2 separate regions of the Homo sapiens genome follow, and region 2 is linked to region 1. Evidence: promoter capture Hi-C in 16 types of primary human blood cells and fetal thymus (Javierre and others, 2016). All regions are on one chromosome and are shown on one strand. Each heading gives the region's core, a stretch centred on a gene start or on the middle of the fragment in contact. The rest is flanking DNA. Distances are from core to core; before and after follow the strand shown. Region 1 holds the start of PLAG1 (PLAG1 zinc finger). Region 2 overlaps ZFAND1 (zinc finger AN1-type containing 1).

Region 1 (7,514 bases), core at 2,539-5,038:
TCAGCCCATTACTCTCAGCCAGGTTGTCAAGGACATGGTGATATTATTGCTAGTGAAACAATAAATGTCAGTGACAGTTTAAAAATATCATACCTTCCAGTTTTCCATGTTTGGACTAAATATTCTCAGTGTTACATTTTCCTGTCTAGTTTTACAGTGACAACCAAATGCTTGCATATTATACAAATAAGGAAAACTAAAGAAAAGATGAATGTTTGTTAGAGAAATTATAAACATCTAAAAATGCTCTAGTTAAATAGGATATGCTGGCCAACAATATTTTTTCTAGAGAAATAACTTTATTCAACAACTGCAGAAAACAAAGGCCCACAAAACTAGAGCAGCCTGTTTTTCCAACTTAACACTCATGAAAATTAAAGCAAACCATCCTACCGACAAACAAGGATTTATGTCAGGATCTCTCAGCCTCTGTGTTACCGAGGGCATTCTAACAGTCTTCTTACTGAGGGTAGACAGAAAAAAAATAATTATACAGTAGTTGACAGAAAATAAATCAATACATCTCAATAGCACTAAAAGTACCTGAAATTTTGATTTTGGCATAATGATCACTTAGTGAGGAACTTCATGTATTCTCTGTACTTTGTGAATAAAAACTTGAACGTGTTTTTCCTTTGTATTGCCATGCCTCAACACAAAGGCCATATATTGGATTGAAATGCATCTACTGGCTGGGTGCGGTGTCTCACGCCTGTAATCCCAGCACTTTGGGAGGCTGGAGCGAGAGGGCTGCTTAAGCTCAGCAGTTCGAGATCAACCTAGGCGACACAGAGAAACCCCATTTCTACCAAAAATACAAAAATTAGCCTGGTGTCGTGCCGTGTGCCTGTGGTCCCAGCTACTTGGAAGGCTAAGTAAGGTGGGATAGCCCAGGAAGTCAAGGCTGCAGAGAGCTGTGATTGCACCAGTGCACTCCAGCCTGGGTGACAGAGAGAGACCCTGTCTCAAAAAAACGAAAAAGAAAGATAGTTCAATTATAATTCAGTTGTTGTTTACTCTTATTCTTAAGTTTAAGCAACCAAATGTACTAATAAAACCTAAGAATACAGTATGCATTCCAACAATTACTTCCTTATTTTACACCAATTAGCGTACAAAATAAGAATGAAATTCGGTACAGTCCAACTTTAGCAAAAACATTCATCAACTGAAGTACCAGAGTGCCTATTTTATGGCCAATAGTAGGGTAGCCAACACACCAAAAAGCCAAGTTATTGCTTAGTTGACATTATGAAAAGCTATACTGTTTCAAAAACAAAAGAGTTGAAATTTTACTTCCAGTGGCATCTTCTTTTTAACTATTTCCCTGCGTTGCAGGAAGTCAGGGAATGCTACTGTGCTTCAGTAATCTTCCAATTCAATTCCTAGAGATACAGCTTTGCAAAAGTTTAGGAGGCCGAGTCGGGCGGATCACGAGGTCAGGAGTTCAAGACCAGCCTGGCCAACATGGTGAAACCCCCTGTCTACTAAAAATACAAAAATTAGCTGAGCGTGGTGGCACGCGCCTGTAATCCCAACTACTCAGGAGGCTGAGGCAAGAGAATCGCCTGAACTTGGGAAGCAGAGGTTGCAGTGAGCCGAGATCGCGCCACTGCACTCCAGCCCAAGCGACAGCAGTGGAAGACGCCGTCTCAAAAAAAAAAAAAAGAGACACCCAGCCCAGTTCTACTATGGGAAAGATCAGGACGTCCAGGCCAAAGGAGACCAGCCTTTGCAAAAAAAAGAATGGAAAAGGGTTTGGTTATTCTGGTGTCCATTAAGTAATCACTGAATAATAATTTTATGATTTTCATTGAACAATACAAGAAAATAACCAGCCAACAGTAACATCTTGGCAAAAAAGAAATCAAGATGCTGTTCAATTATATCTACAAGCTTCTTCCTCTCCTGAAGACAATTTTTTTCCACACTTCCCTTCTTCCTAAGAGAGATGATGATAGTAAATAAATTCACAGCTTTCTTTTTTACACCTATCCTATGATGTGAGAACACAGAACTCTTCATACACCTTAGATTTAATAATCTCAACAAGGATCAGACAACCTTGCATTAAATTTAAGTTTCGTGCCTTACATGAAAGTATCCTACTCTATATTTTATTGTCAGTCAGAAATTCTTCAAAAATAATACCTAGGTAACATCACATATACCCAGTTCGAGTTTGGTGCATGAGTTTCTTCACATTTCATTTCCTTTTCCTTCCGGATTCTAAATACAAGGCACTCTAAGTTTGGATTTCCGAAAGTCCCCTCCTTTGCATGAGTTCCTCGTGTATTAACTGGAATTGAAGAGGAAATGTCAATTTACAGTGAGGAGCGGGGCTGAATTACAACATCGAGTGCTCCGCTAAAGGGGCCTTGTCTATTACTTTTTGAATGTACTAAATAAATGTTACAAGGCTCTACTACTTGCAGAGCATAACCAGAAAGAAAAACCAAGCAAAGATATGAAGGAGGGGCCACAAAACCATAGCACATTCAGGGGATAACTCTAAAATCCACTCCAAAGGGCAAACTGCTTAATAAAGCAGTTCCTGATTTCCCATCCAGTGGTTCACGTCCCCCCTCTCTAAGTAGCTTTGAAAGGGCAGGGGGAAGGAAACGTTTCTGAACACGTTCATGCCCACACGCCCCGTGGTCGGAGCCCAGGCAGGGTCCGCGGCTCTGCTAAACCCGGAAGCTGCACACGCCGTGCCGTTAACCCACTGCCAGGTGCAAAGTGGAAGGGGGCAAGAAGTCAAGGGTGGCCTGCCGGAGGTGGGCGCGCAGGGCAAGGAGAAACGAAGGGCGAACCCGAGGCCTCGCCGCCTTCCGCGGTGTAGCCCGTCAGCATCTGATCCTGGACGGCGCGCACAGGTGAACACACCTTGCTGTGCCGAGACCATGCCGAGAGAGACAAGGGGCGAGGAAAACGCAGGGAACTGGGGGTGGGGCCGGTAACTGCGCTTCAGAGGCTACACAGGAGAGTGGAAGAAGAGCTGGGGTTGCCCGGACTAGGCAGAGGTCATCTTCCTCGCCCCCGGAGCGAACAGACCCGTGTGGCGGGAGGAAGAGCAACGGGAAGAGGTCCGCGCTGCGGCGAAGCCTGGCGGGAGCGCCTCCGCGCCGCAGAAGTGCATTCGGGCCCCGCTACGGCCCAAGGGCACCCCTCTCTCCCCGCTTTTCTGCGGCCGCTTCGGAGGTAGGGCGGGGGAACCACTCACCTCCGGCCTCCGCTTCGCCAGCACCCAGGCCGTCTCCAGCTCCAAACACGTCAATGGCTCACGCAGCAGGACCTTAAGTAGCGCGCATCCCAACTTGCTGCCCCCGCTCCCCGGCGGCAGCCCGCCCAATCGGCGCGCGCCGCCGCCAGACTGACAGCCGCGCGGGGCCCTGGGCCGCAGGGGCGGTCGGGCCTCGCCCCGCCCCCGCCTGGCGAAAGGAGGGCCGAGGCGGGAGGAGTGGGCGGGGCGGTGAGCGCGACCCCGCCCCCTCTTCCCCCGCCCCACCGCGCCCCCCAGCCGCGGCCCGTCTCTTAACACTTCGGCTTGACGGGCGGCGTCGCGGCCCAATGGGCGGGCCAACTCCCGCCAGCGGCGGCTCCGAGTGGCCAGCTCTCGGGCGGAGCGCGCGCGGGGGGCGGGCGCAGCGGCGGGCGGGGTTTGGGGGCGGGCCGACGGGAGGCGGGGGCGGTGGCCGAACAGGCAGGGGGAGGCAGCGGTGGGCGCGACGTCGGCGGCGGCGGCGGCGGCGGCGGCGGCAGCTGCAAGTTGGGCTGCAGGGGCAGCGCATACACTACAATGGCTGCTGGAAAGAGGCGTAAGGAAACAATTTCCAGGCCCGCCGCGTCCAGCCCGAAATATGAGAAAAAAATTATTAGAAATTCCGCGGGCGGTGTAGAGGCGGCGGACGGGCCGGAGGGAGGATGTTAAAGCCCCGCGGTGAGTTCTCCGGGGGTCCGGGGCGGCGGCGAGGCGTTTAGCGGGAGAAATATCAGGGTTATTTAAATTATGGGACTAGCCGAGGGGGCAGAGGAGCAGCGGCGGCGGCAGGAGGAGGAAAAGTTTGTGCTACTCTCAGCCCCTGCTCAGGACCCCAGAGAGAAAAATAATAATAAAAAATAAAATAAAATAATTACGCGGGGCTGCGAGGACTCCCGAAGTCGCTTCTGACAGGGCAGGGGGCGATGCGGCTGGGGACCCGAAGGTGAGGTCGGTGGGAAAAAAAAAAAAACCTTTATTCAGGGTCTGGAAAGTTTGAAAAGTTTTCCTCCTCCTCCTCCTCCTCCTCCTCTCTGGTGCTGTGAATATTGTGACAGCGGCAGCGGCAGCAGCGAGAGCGGAAGACATTAGAGACCCGAAAAATAAGGGAAAAATTAATATAAATTCAGTTTTGAGAGTAAACTCTCCGCATTTTCCACCAAAACATCCCGGGGGAAGGTCGCTTCCCAAAGGGCCTGGCGGAAACCCGCAGTCGGCAATATTTGGGGGGCACTTTGAGTGACTTGGGGTAACTTTGCCCCTTTTTCAAAAGAGGTTTTTCTTTTCTGGAGAAATGAATTTGTTTTTGCCCTTTCCTCAGGTGGGCAAGCCGGGGTCGGGGTGCGGGGTCTGCAGGGAGGTGTGAGCCCGGGGTGTGTGGCTGCGAGGGGGGGTAGGGGGAGGGGGTGCTAAATGAAAGCAGGAGATCGGCACAGAGCAGGGACAGCTTGTTGTCAGTATCATAAACAACCAAAATGGAGGGAGAACTCAGGCATATAACCAAATAAAAATTTTTAAAAAATCGCAAAAAATCCCTAAAAATCCGGGATGCTCCCCCTTTTCTCGCTAAAGGTAAAAGTATGTACCGCCTTTCCCCTGAAGTCCATTTTGACTTTGCAGGGACCAAGGAGTTAATATTTATTTATTTTTTAAAACTTTCGAAGGGCAAAAGCCTTTTATAACTCAACCGACAATGAGAAAACGTGAAAATCCGATGCAAGAGAAGCAGGGGGAGCGAGGGGGGAGGTGGTAGTGCAGAAACTGCTAAACTTATTGGTAATGTGGACTGATCTCAGATAAGATAAACACTATATTTGCTATTTTATAACTCTCTTTTAATGATCTTTGCGGGGTTTTTTTGGGTGGAAAAAAAAGTGATGCCATTTTCTTAATAGAGTTAATATGTGTGATTGGAAGAATGAACCTTTCCGGCTTTAGATTGCATTTTCGTCGCATTTATGCTTCAGGTTTTGTTAGTGGCTCCCTCCTTTCTTTAAACTGGGCTCTGCAGAGGAGGGATAGAGAGGTGATGGTGCTCAGAGAGGCTGGAGTGCAAGGCTGGAGTACCTTTTGGGGAGGGATGTGGAGTTGCTTGGTTTCCCCCTTCCTGACATGTTTGCTTCACCTGTTCATCCTTCCTAAAGAATGTTAAGCTGAGGTTTTCTGGTTTTATGTGTATAAAAGGATGATGTCTCTTGCATCACATTGATGTTAATGGGAAAGTGCTGCTGATGTTGGTTCCACGTGGGATATGGGACAGAGCAGGGCATTTTAAAGGGACAGCTTCTCTTTTCTTATGGTTTTCATCACCTACACAGAATCACTGTCTGAGGACCAAAAGCAGAGGTGCTGGGAGGGTGTGGTGATGGAAGAGCCTTCCCTTTCTGTTACTCCAGTGCACCCACCCATAGGAGTGATGGAGGGACAGGAGGGATAAACAGCCTCAACCGAAGATGGATATGTGTATAGTTTGTATCCAAACTGTTCCTTTGTGTAACAAGCCCTCCCAGGAACTTTTCATGTTACATTGCTTTGCTTTGGAAGCTGATTTTGGAAGGAATTGTGGAAAAATGGAAATAGTTTAAGGTGTGTGGTGTAATGGTATAGCATTATTGAACAGTTATGAATTCTGTGCAGTGAGATCAAAGAGCTGTGTATGCCCATAATGTGATTTTACAGCCATTTTGTAAAAACTGTAAAATACCTTAATATTCAATTTGGCTTAAGGTACATTGAGGACTTCTGGTTGAAAATTACAGAGTGGTGAAGATTCTTTAAAATTGTAAGCAGTAGGCATTTCTTTAGGGGGAAGGAAAGCACACACACCAACACCATGGAAAAGTTTACACATCCATTTTTAAAGTCCATCCTATGCATGGGTTGTAACTTTGCGCCTTTGAAATGAAAAGATTTTTAAAATCCTGAGCCCTGTGAGTTTTCATTTTCTAAGTTGAATTTATTTGTGTTATTTAACAGAAAGTGTTTACTGACCATAAACTACTATCGGCTCTTATGTTTTAGATTTCCACGATATTTTCAAAATTTAAAATGTGTAAATTGTTAGCTGTACTATAATGGGGATTAAGGTTAATCTTCAGTAGAAATTACTTGTGTTCCATTTTCCACAGGTATATGGAGTTTCTGAAATAAATCCTTATTTCCTCTTGTTTTTATTATTTATAGACATGGATTAAAATTAGAGCTGAATTTTTAGACTTCTTATATAGAATGTTTTTTCTTGCCCTACTGTATAAACAAGTTATTATTTTTGTAGTCTATTGTATGTTAACTTGTGTTTACAACTGAGTTCTTCCAACTTTCTGTAAATACCTCTATACAACATCACATCAGTAACGTGTTTGAGTACATCATCTTGTGGTTTCTGATTTTGGAAGCAATTACAACTTTCTAAGAACTCATTAAAAGATTAATCTCATCACCCACAGTTAAATCAAAATTGATTGGAAAAGGATTAAGCTATCAATAGAGAAGGGAAACTCCTCCATGCCCAATGATCTTCTGTCCAGAGGTTTCAGAATGCCATTAAGACTTACAAAGCCTTTTCATTTTATCTTACGTTTTCATTGTATTTTGGCTCAAGACAGTTACATTGACTATAAGTAGTCAGAATTATGCTGTGCATTTAAAATAAATGAGACTTAGATCTTGAATAATTGCCACTTTGACAAACCAGATACTAATATCAATAAATTCAATCTCTATAAAAAAATGAAGGAATTCAAGTTATATTAGATTATCGTGTTATTCAGGTTGTTTGGACACTATGACTGGTTTATTGTCAATCTAAATAAAAGTGCTGGTATTGTGATTTTTTTTCTTCCTCTCATATAGGGTGGTGTAAAACTTTCTTCATGTTTGTATTTTATGCAACTAGCTACTTGTCTGTTCAGAAAACGCACTCAGAGTGCACCAATCTAAAATCTGTAATCGCTTAGAGAGTCTTATTTAGATGGGGCACAGCACAATATTTAATTTGAAGTGATTGTACTGAGCTTTTGTGATGCCTTAGAAATACTACCTGTTGAACATCCTTTTCTGAAGCTATTAAATTATACCAGTATACAGAAATAATGTCATGATATTGTGTAGTCAAAATCTTTATTTCAGTTGGAATCGGAGAAACCTCATATATTGATAGTCTTATTTGAAATTTATATGCCTACTTTTGCTACTTGAAATTCTATAAAGAATTTATCTGCTGTGGAAGATTTATAAGTGTGGGCTAATATTGACA
Region 2 (7,514 bases), core at 329-2,828, about 26 Mb before region 1:
AAATGACGTGTGGTCTCCTTGGAAGGAAGCCATGCAATTCCTGAAAACGTACCTTGCAGTGTTCATTTTGGTGTTCGAGTGTGCCGTGTCCGAGCAGTGCACGAAGCCCACTGCTGGATCGCGTGGCTCACACTTACTCTGCTGAGCGCGGGTATGGGGACGCGTAGGTTTGGTCTGGGACTGTTGTCTTTTGGCTTTGCCACTGCGACCTACGGCCAGCTACTTTCCCATACTTTTTTTTACTTATCTGTTACGTAGCTGTCAGGAGGAGTTGGGGGAGGTCAACTCGCCCAACTAGTGTTCACGTGGATGTGTGTCCGGAAGAAGGCCCTTCCTTAGCTTTTATCAAATTCTCAAAGGCATCCTGATCCTCAGATTATTCCACCAAATGGTCATCATGCTCTCCCAGCTCTGTCATTCCCTGATTCTCATTATTATTGTTTGAACAAACATTTACAGATTATTGATTTTGGTGCTTGGACCACATAAGGGTGTAAACTACAGTCTTTTACACGGAAGACCTTTCCAACTAGTAAGCTGCATTTTAGAGAGAATTAGTTAATAATATGGCAATGGGCTCTCCCCATTGCACTGAGAGACCTTGGGATATACCTAGTCCAAGGTGATGTGGCATTGGCTTCAGGATGCCATACACCTTGAAAAGGCAAGTTTTTGAAGCATTAGAACCACACAGACTGCTCAGTCGTTGTTACTAGGTTTCACACACTACATAAGGTAGCAAACAGGTTTAATCTCCCCTTGGAACTTCAGTCATTGGTATCAAGTGCCTGAATTACCGTGTCAAAGACTCTTGAGATTTAGCCCAGTTTCAGTGGAGTTCCATAATTGATTAGTGATTTCTACTGTGGGAATGCGTGATAGGACAGGTGACACAATCCCTTCTAGGTTCTTGTTACTTATAGCCATCTATCTATCTATCTTTCACCACTGGCTGTAATAACAAGCCAGTGTGACTTTTTTCATGTGGAAGCTTAGCCATTTGGGTTTTGACTGTGAATTATGTGTGTCTATGCCTGATCCTTCGCTAGTGAGTCCAATACACATTATATGCCATTCATGACATAGTTCATTTTCCTTTCCAGCTATATATGTCTTTAGTGTCAATAACTGAGATGAGGCCAGGCCTATCTGTTTGGGACTAGTGGAAAGCAGTTAAGATTTAGACTACGTCAAGTGTATATCCTAAATTTTATCTACCTTCTGGAGGGATTGAAGGATGGTATCAGGTGCTGGGAAGTTGTCTTGACTTAACTCTTTCCCCTGGGTCCTTCTGGTTTGCATCTAATACTTGATTATTAAAAGTCGCAAAATATTAAGCATCTCCACCCAGTCACTGCAGTATTGTCCTTTTTTGTTTGTTTGTTTGTTTTGTTTTGAGATGGAGTCTGGCTCTGTCACCCAGGATGGAGTGCAGTGGCGCGATCTCGGCCCTCTGCAACCTCTGCCTCCTGAATTCAAGCGATTCTCCTGCCTCAGCCTCTTGAGTAGCTGGAATTACAGGCATGAACCACCACGCCCAGCTAATTTGTGTGTGTGTGTGTGTGTGTGTGTGTGTGTGTGTGTGTGTGTGTTTTCAGTAGAGATGGGGTTTCGCCATGTTGGCCAGGCTGTTTTCAAACTCTTGACCTCAGGTGATCCGCCCCCCTCGGCCTCCCAAAGTGCTGGGATTACAGGCTTAAGCCACTGTGCCTGGCCCCTTGCAGTACTGTTCTGAGTTGAGTATACTCAAAAGAAGTTAATTGTTGTATTATTCTTATTAATTATAGTTACTGTATTACTATTCTGATCTTTCATATATATCTCATTTGGTTTCTGTAAGTACACTGTGAGGTCGGTGTGGCATACAGCATAGATACAGATATAGATACACATGCATACACACATATACATATATACACAGAAAGGATGTGCTTGTATCTTTATATCTGTCTCTGTATCTACCTGTCTATATCTTTCTATTTTTCTTACCCAATAAAAGAGCTTTGGTTTTGTATATGTTTATTTACATACATATATAGAAACACACACACATATACTTTATACTAACTGTACTATATATTACATCAAATTATATATATTTGAAATACCATAAATCTTATAGGTGTATATATAAATATAAATATATTTGAATATAGTCAAGCTTTGGCGATATATATATATATATGTTGTTCACACACATATATATTAGTACACAGATATAAATATATATATTTATTGGATATATATAAAAATATATATATCCAAAGTTTTACTGTTAAGTAACTTGCCTAGCACTGTTAGATTAGTAAGCAGTGGAATCAGAATTGAATCCCAGGTTTTTCACTCCAAATGCGGAATTTTTGCAGTATACAGTCATCAAAAACAACACCTAGTAAATCTGGGAAACAAAACAAAAAAGAAAAAGAAAACCACTAGAACTTATTTTTGTCTGACTTAGTAAAGTTACAAGTAACATCTATTAATACCTTATGTTAATCCAATTACTTTCTGTCAGTTATTGAAGTTGTGATTAATTTTGTTAGAGTGGTTACATAGTGCTTGCTACACTAGGATATTAGTCAAAATGGGAAGTTTTTCCATAGAGGTTGTCTTCTTGCTTAAGAAAACTAAATCAAAATCAGATACTGACCAGTATATACATTTTCTCTCAATTTTAGATTTTCTTCCATTTGTGTGTGATGATTGTTCAGGAATATTTTGGTAAGTTAAGTTTTTATGCAGGATTTGGGAGTAATTTTAGTGTTTATTAATATGAGGTTATTTCTGAAAAGTAGAATGATTTAAAATAATTGTTACTTTAGCCATTGATTATTGATATTCAGTATAGTTATAGACTCTGATTACTTCTCCATATATATGACTGATTTTTAAACTTCCAAAAGTGGGGTTATGTATGTGAATTTTATATAAAAGTTATATTTTTGTCTTTTAATTACAAGGAGAAAATAATATTCACAATATAAAGAATATGGTAAAGATCCAGTTATAATTATTGCTCTTTATTTTAATTAATAAAATGAAAAGAGCCCAACCTATAAATGCCTTAAAATAGGAATCACAGCATTTGACTACATTACATGCCAAGTAAAACCTGGGAATTAATGAAGAATTTTGGAAAATGGATTTTCCTTACAGTTAAACTTTAAAATGTCAAGCATTTAAATTATAAAATAGAGCACTGAAAGAATGAATTTTTTTCAGAATGTAATTCAGAATGATTTGTTGGAAGTAAATAAAAGTAATGTATATTTTTAAATTATTTGGAATTAGAGCACTTTTCACATTTTACTACTGATGATCTTTTAGAAATAAAAAGAGCTGAAAGATATGTTTATATTTTCATGCAACGTAAACGTAATTTAGGGTGGTGAATTGTTTTTACTCATATTGAAGTTGAACATTTGTGTTTTAAAACTTTTGAGACTATAGATGCTCCATCTTTATCTGACATTTCAGTTTTTTCTCATATTCAAAGTTATTAATGTAGTATGAGCATAATGTATCTTAAGTATACTGAACATTAAAATATCGCAAATTTCTGCAGTTATCTTTAAGTATGTTATTTAAATAAACACTTGCTATTATTATTTAAGCCTTGAACACAGAAGCAGGGAGTCTCATGGTTGTCCTGAGGTATGTTAGTATTTTTCCAATCTGATAAAATGTATTCGTATTTATGTACTTTCATTCAGAATTTGATTAGATTTAAAGGCAGTCAGTATCACAGATTAAAGTTTGGCATACTAAACTGATTAGGTAAAGAGGCTTTTGCTTCATTTATATTATTTTTCTTTGTTTGAAAGAAAAATTGTTTTACTTGGTATTTGTAAATTTTTATCCTCATAATTTTTATTCCTTAACATTTGTTTAGGTAGCCCACTTACAGTATAAGGCTATATATTTATTTATTTGTTTGTTTTGTTTTGTTTTGTTTGAGATGGAGTTTTGCTCTTGTTGCCCAGGCTGGAGTGCAGTGGTACGATCTCGGCTCACTGCAACCTCCGCCTCCGGGGTTCAAGTGATTCTCCTGGCTCAGCCTCCCGAATAGCTGGGATTATAGGCACGTGCCACCACGCCCGACTAATTTTTGTATTTTAGTAGAGATGGGGTTTTACCATGTTGGCCAGGCTGGTCTCAAACTCCTGACCTCAGGTGATCCACCCGCCTTGGCCTCCAAAGTGTTGGGGTTACAGGTGTTAGCCACCGCGCCCAGCCAAGGCTATATATTTATAAATATACACGTAAGTTAATGTCCTCCTTATATATTCCCTCCAGTTCACTGTGTCCTTCACTGTTGTGTTCATTTTCACTGATGCCTGCTGATAGGATCTGTGGTAGTAAATCATTCTGGCTCAGTCGACTTAAGACAACCAGGAAGAAACCTATAGTTTAATAAAATTCCTACCCTAATTTTGCACAAATCATAAGTTAAGAAAGGTCTGGCAAATAGAAGTCAAAATATTACCCTTATTACTGGTAAAGATAAGTTGAATGATGAAGTTCAGCATAGAGCAAATGGGTTTGCAAAGAATATCCAGAATTAGGCAGACTTGCCCAGCAGTCACAGCAGTACTGGACCAGGTTAGGCTTTCTCCCTGAAGGCAGTACAGTTCCAAGAGGAAGAGAGAAAGCTAAGCCCACCATGTTCAATGTGTTCTAACACTTTTCAGTGGACATTTATTCCTGCCCACCATTTACCAAGTGCTTTACCAAATATTTTCACATCTGTTCTCTCAGTTATAGAAAGTTATTAAAGTTACATGAGGTTCAGTTGAAATCTGATTCTTTCCAGTTTAAATGATCAGTCAAAATCTGACCCTTTGAAGTTTACGTGATCTATTTGAGGAAAATTTGAATTACCTAGCATGTTGATTTTATGCAGCATTAATTGGAGGAAATATTCAGTCATACAATAAAACTTACTGAAGTTTCTTGCAGTTTATAAATCTATCCTGTGTTTTCTTTTTTCTTAGGATATAATTTGATTCCTCTGAATGTGTCTCAGATAATTAGGTCTCGTTAATTAAATATTGAAACATCATTAGGCCATTGCAACAAGTTCAAAAAGATACTTAAATTAATTCCAACAAGGTGTAACTATTATTTATAAAAAGGAATTCCCTTTGGTTGTAGTTTTCAAGCAATTATTTCCCTACGTTTACTCGTCTTTAGAAACCTGGTTTGTTAATGCTCAGAATAGCCTGGCTGATTTAGAATTTTTTTTTTTTTTTAGTCTTATAAAATCTTTCTTCCTGTAGTGGAGTATTTGCTGGTAATAAAAATATGAAATAGGGCATAGAGAATAATATATGATTATGAAAACCGTCTTTAACCTTTTATCTCACAAATAAATAAATATTTTTTAAGTGTTTTATTCTCTGAGTTAAGTGTTTCATCTCCTAAAATTAGTGTGGAAATTAGGTTGACTTGCCATTTGAGGGTTGATGAGATAATTACCTGAGCATATCATAGGGGCACCTTTGTATGAGACTGTTACAAAGCAGGTTAAAATTATAGAGCGTAATTAAATAGTCATTTCAACTTGACTTAGAAGACAAATATACCACAGTAGGAAAATTATGAAAGTGTGGAACAGTCAGTATAGTAATCATTTGTCACATAAAACATTCTTTATAATCTTTGAGAGTAAGTAACTTGCTCTAATAAGTTTAAGCAAAAATAAAATGAATACTGCCTTCTAGAATAAGACACATTGATTTGTTTTAGGTCTGAAATGTAATACATTTCCTCCTTTTTGCATTTTCAGGTGACTGTAATCAATGAGAGACTGAAGACAGATCAACATACATCTTACCCATGCTCTTTCAAAGACTGTGCTGAGAGAGAACTTGTGGCAGTTATATGTCCTTATTGTGAGAAGAATTTTTGCCTGAGGTGATTGATCACTTAGGCTGTTCACACTTTGTATATCTGTTTAAGTGCTATACAAACACATGAACTAGTGTCACTCTTCTGTTGCTCATAGACACCGTCATCAGTCAGATCATGAGTGTGAAAAACTGGAAATCCCAAAGCCTCGAATGGCTGCCACTCAGAAACTTGTTAAAGACATTATTGGTAAGTATCTAGAAAGCGTGTTTTGTTGCTTTCCTAGTTCCAGAGCTCCTGCTTCTTATATCTACTTTCCAATTATGGGAGGCATCATTAATAACCCCAGTGGTATTCGTATTAACTTGTATTTTGATGATATTCTTGTGACAGTATTTCTTATGAGGTCTACCTGACCGATGGAAATTTGGAAATTATTTGGAGGTACTCCACTGTAAGTACTTATCTCTTTTGCTGAGCCACTTAGATTAGCTAGTTAACCATTGGGCTAGAAATGGTATTCATGAGATTGAAGTAGTCAGCTGCTTTCTCTACAGATTAAACTCTAAGCCTAGTCAGCTGTTCTGTGAATGCTGCTGATAATAAGAGATACCAGGAATGAATGTATCTGTGACTTAAATCAGTCTGCCTGCCAGTATGTTAGCTCAGAATTTTTATTCCATATTAAGGATAGTACCTTTATTACAATCTTGCATAACCAAATCTTAAGGTTGTCTGTAGAAGCATTAATGACTGCTTTAGGTTAAATAGGCTTAAGTTGAAAAGAAGCACATTATAGTGGATTTTTTGATGTGGAGATTGCCTAGATCAATCTCAATGATATTTTTCCATTGACAATGTAAATACAATACCTATACAATGAATGTGGTCTCTGTATATCTCTCTTGTGTGTAATTTATATATGTTTCTGAGCCATAATTAATAAGTGTATTATAATAAAATTCTATTTGTAATGTGAAAGTTTTATGTGATTACATGCTTACACTTCTTAGATTCCAAGACAGGAGAAACAGCAAGTAAACGATGGAAAGGTGCCAAAAATAGTGAAACAGCTGCAAAGGTTGCATTGATGAAATTAAAGATGCATGCTGATGGCGATAAGTCATTACCACAGGTTGGTCTTAGAGATTTTTTAAAACACAAAAATTTCAAATATAGTTGAAGTCCTCTTTGTATTCCTCCTTCCCATCAATTAACAACTAACCTAAACCTGGTATGTATCATTCTTAATGTTGCATGGTATATGTCTGCATAAATAATACAAAGTTTTTTGAGTTTTTTCACTTTATAGACATGATAGTGAACCATATGTATACTTCTTCGAGTTGTCTTTTTTTTTCCCACTTGGGATGTGCTGTTAATGTTTATCCATGCTGAGATTTAGTCAACAAAATTCGGATTTTTTTCAATTTTTTGCTATTATAAACTGTCTATGGTGACCATCCTTGTGTATATGTAGAAGAGTTTCTCTAGGACTGTTCCTTTAAAACTTCACAATATCAGTTATTTTATATAACAACCCAATATATATATATACATACATACCTTAACACAGTTGAGTGTTATATGTGTTATATTATGATATTTGTTATTCTGTTTTAAAGATTGTGGCTGGGCGTGGTGGCTCACACCTGTAATCCTAG

What was found. The method cuts DNA at HindIII sites, captures the fragments that hold promoters and counts their contacts. A CHiCAGO score of 5 or more calls a contact.
Region 2: a contact is called between a fragment that was not itself captured here and the fragment with the promoter of PLAG1 in region 1, in 1 of 17 cell types (non-activated CD4 T cells). The highest score is 5.6, in non-activated CD4 T cells.

The regions. Positions count from the first base shown.
Region 1 is chr8:56,207,547-56,215,060 of GRCh38, reverse strand. PLAG1 (PLAG1 zinc finger) reads left to right here and starts at 3,788. Exons shown (of 5, transcript NM_002655.3): 1 at 3,788-3,940. CHCHD7 (coiled-coil-helix-coiled-coil-helix domain containing 7) reads right to left here and starts at 3,272. Exons shown (of 4, transcript NM_001011671.3): 1 at 3,224-3,272; 2 at 394-463. The coding sequence starts at 447. RefSeq lists enhancers at 1,024-1,523, 3,094-3,163 and silencers at 3,176-3,401, 3,244-3,803. The HindIII fragment of the contact is 9,849 bases long and covers 1,899-7,514 here.
Region 2 is chr8:81,713,389-81,720,902 of GRCh38, reverse strand. ZFAND1 (zinc finger AN1-type containing 1) reads left to right here. Exons shown (of 8, transcript NM_024699.3): 2 at 2,679-2,721; 3 at 3,615-3,654; 4 at 5,789-5,916; 5 at 6,008-6,099; 6 at 6,864-6,985. Among named protein-coding and RNA genes, the nearest start is that of ZFAND1, 4.2 kb to the left of the region's middle. RefSeq lists a silencer at 1-107 and an enhancer at 1-569. The HindIII fragment of the contact is 1,170 bases long and covers 994-2,163 here.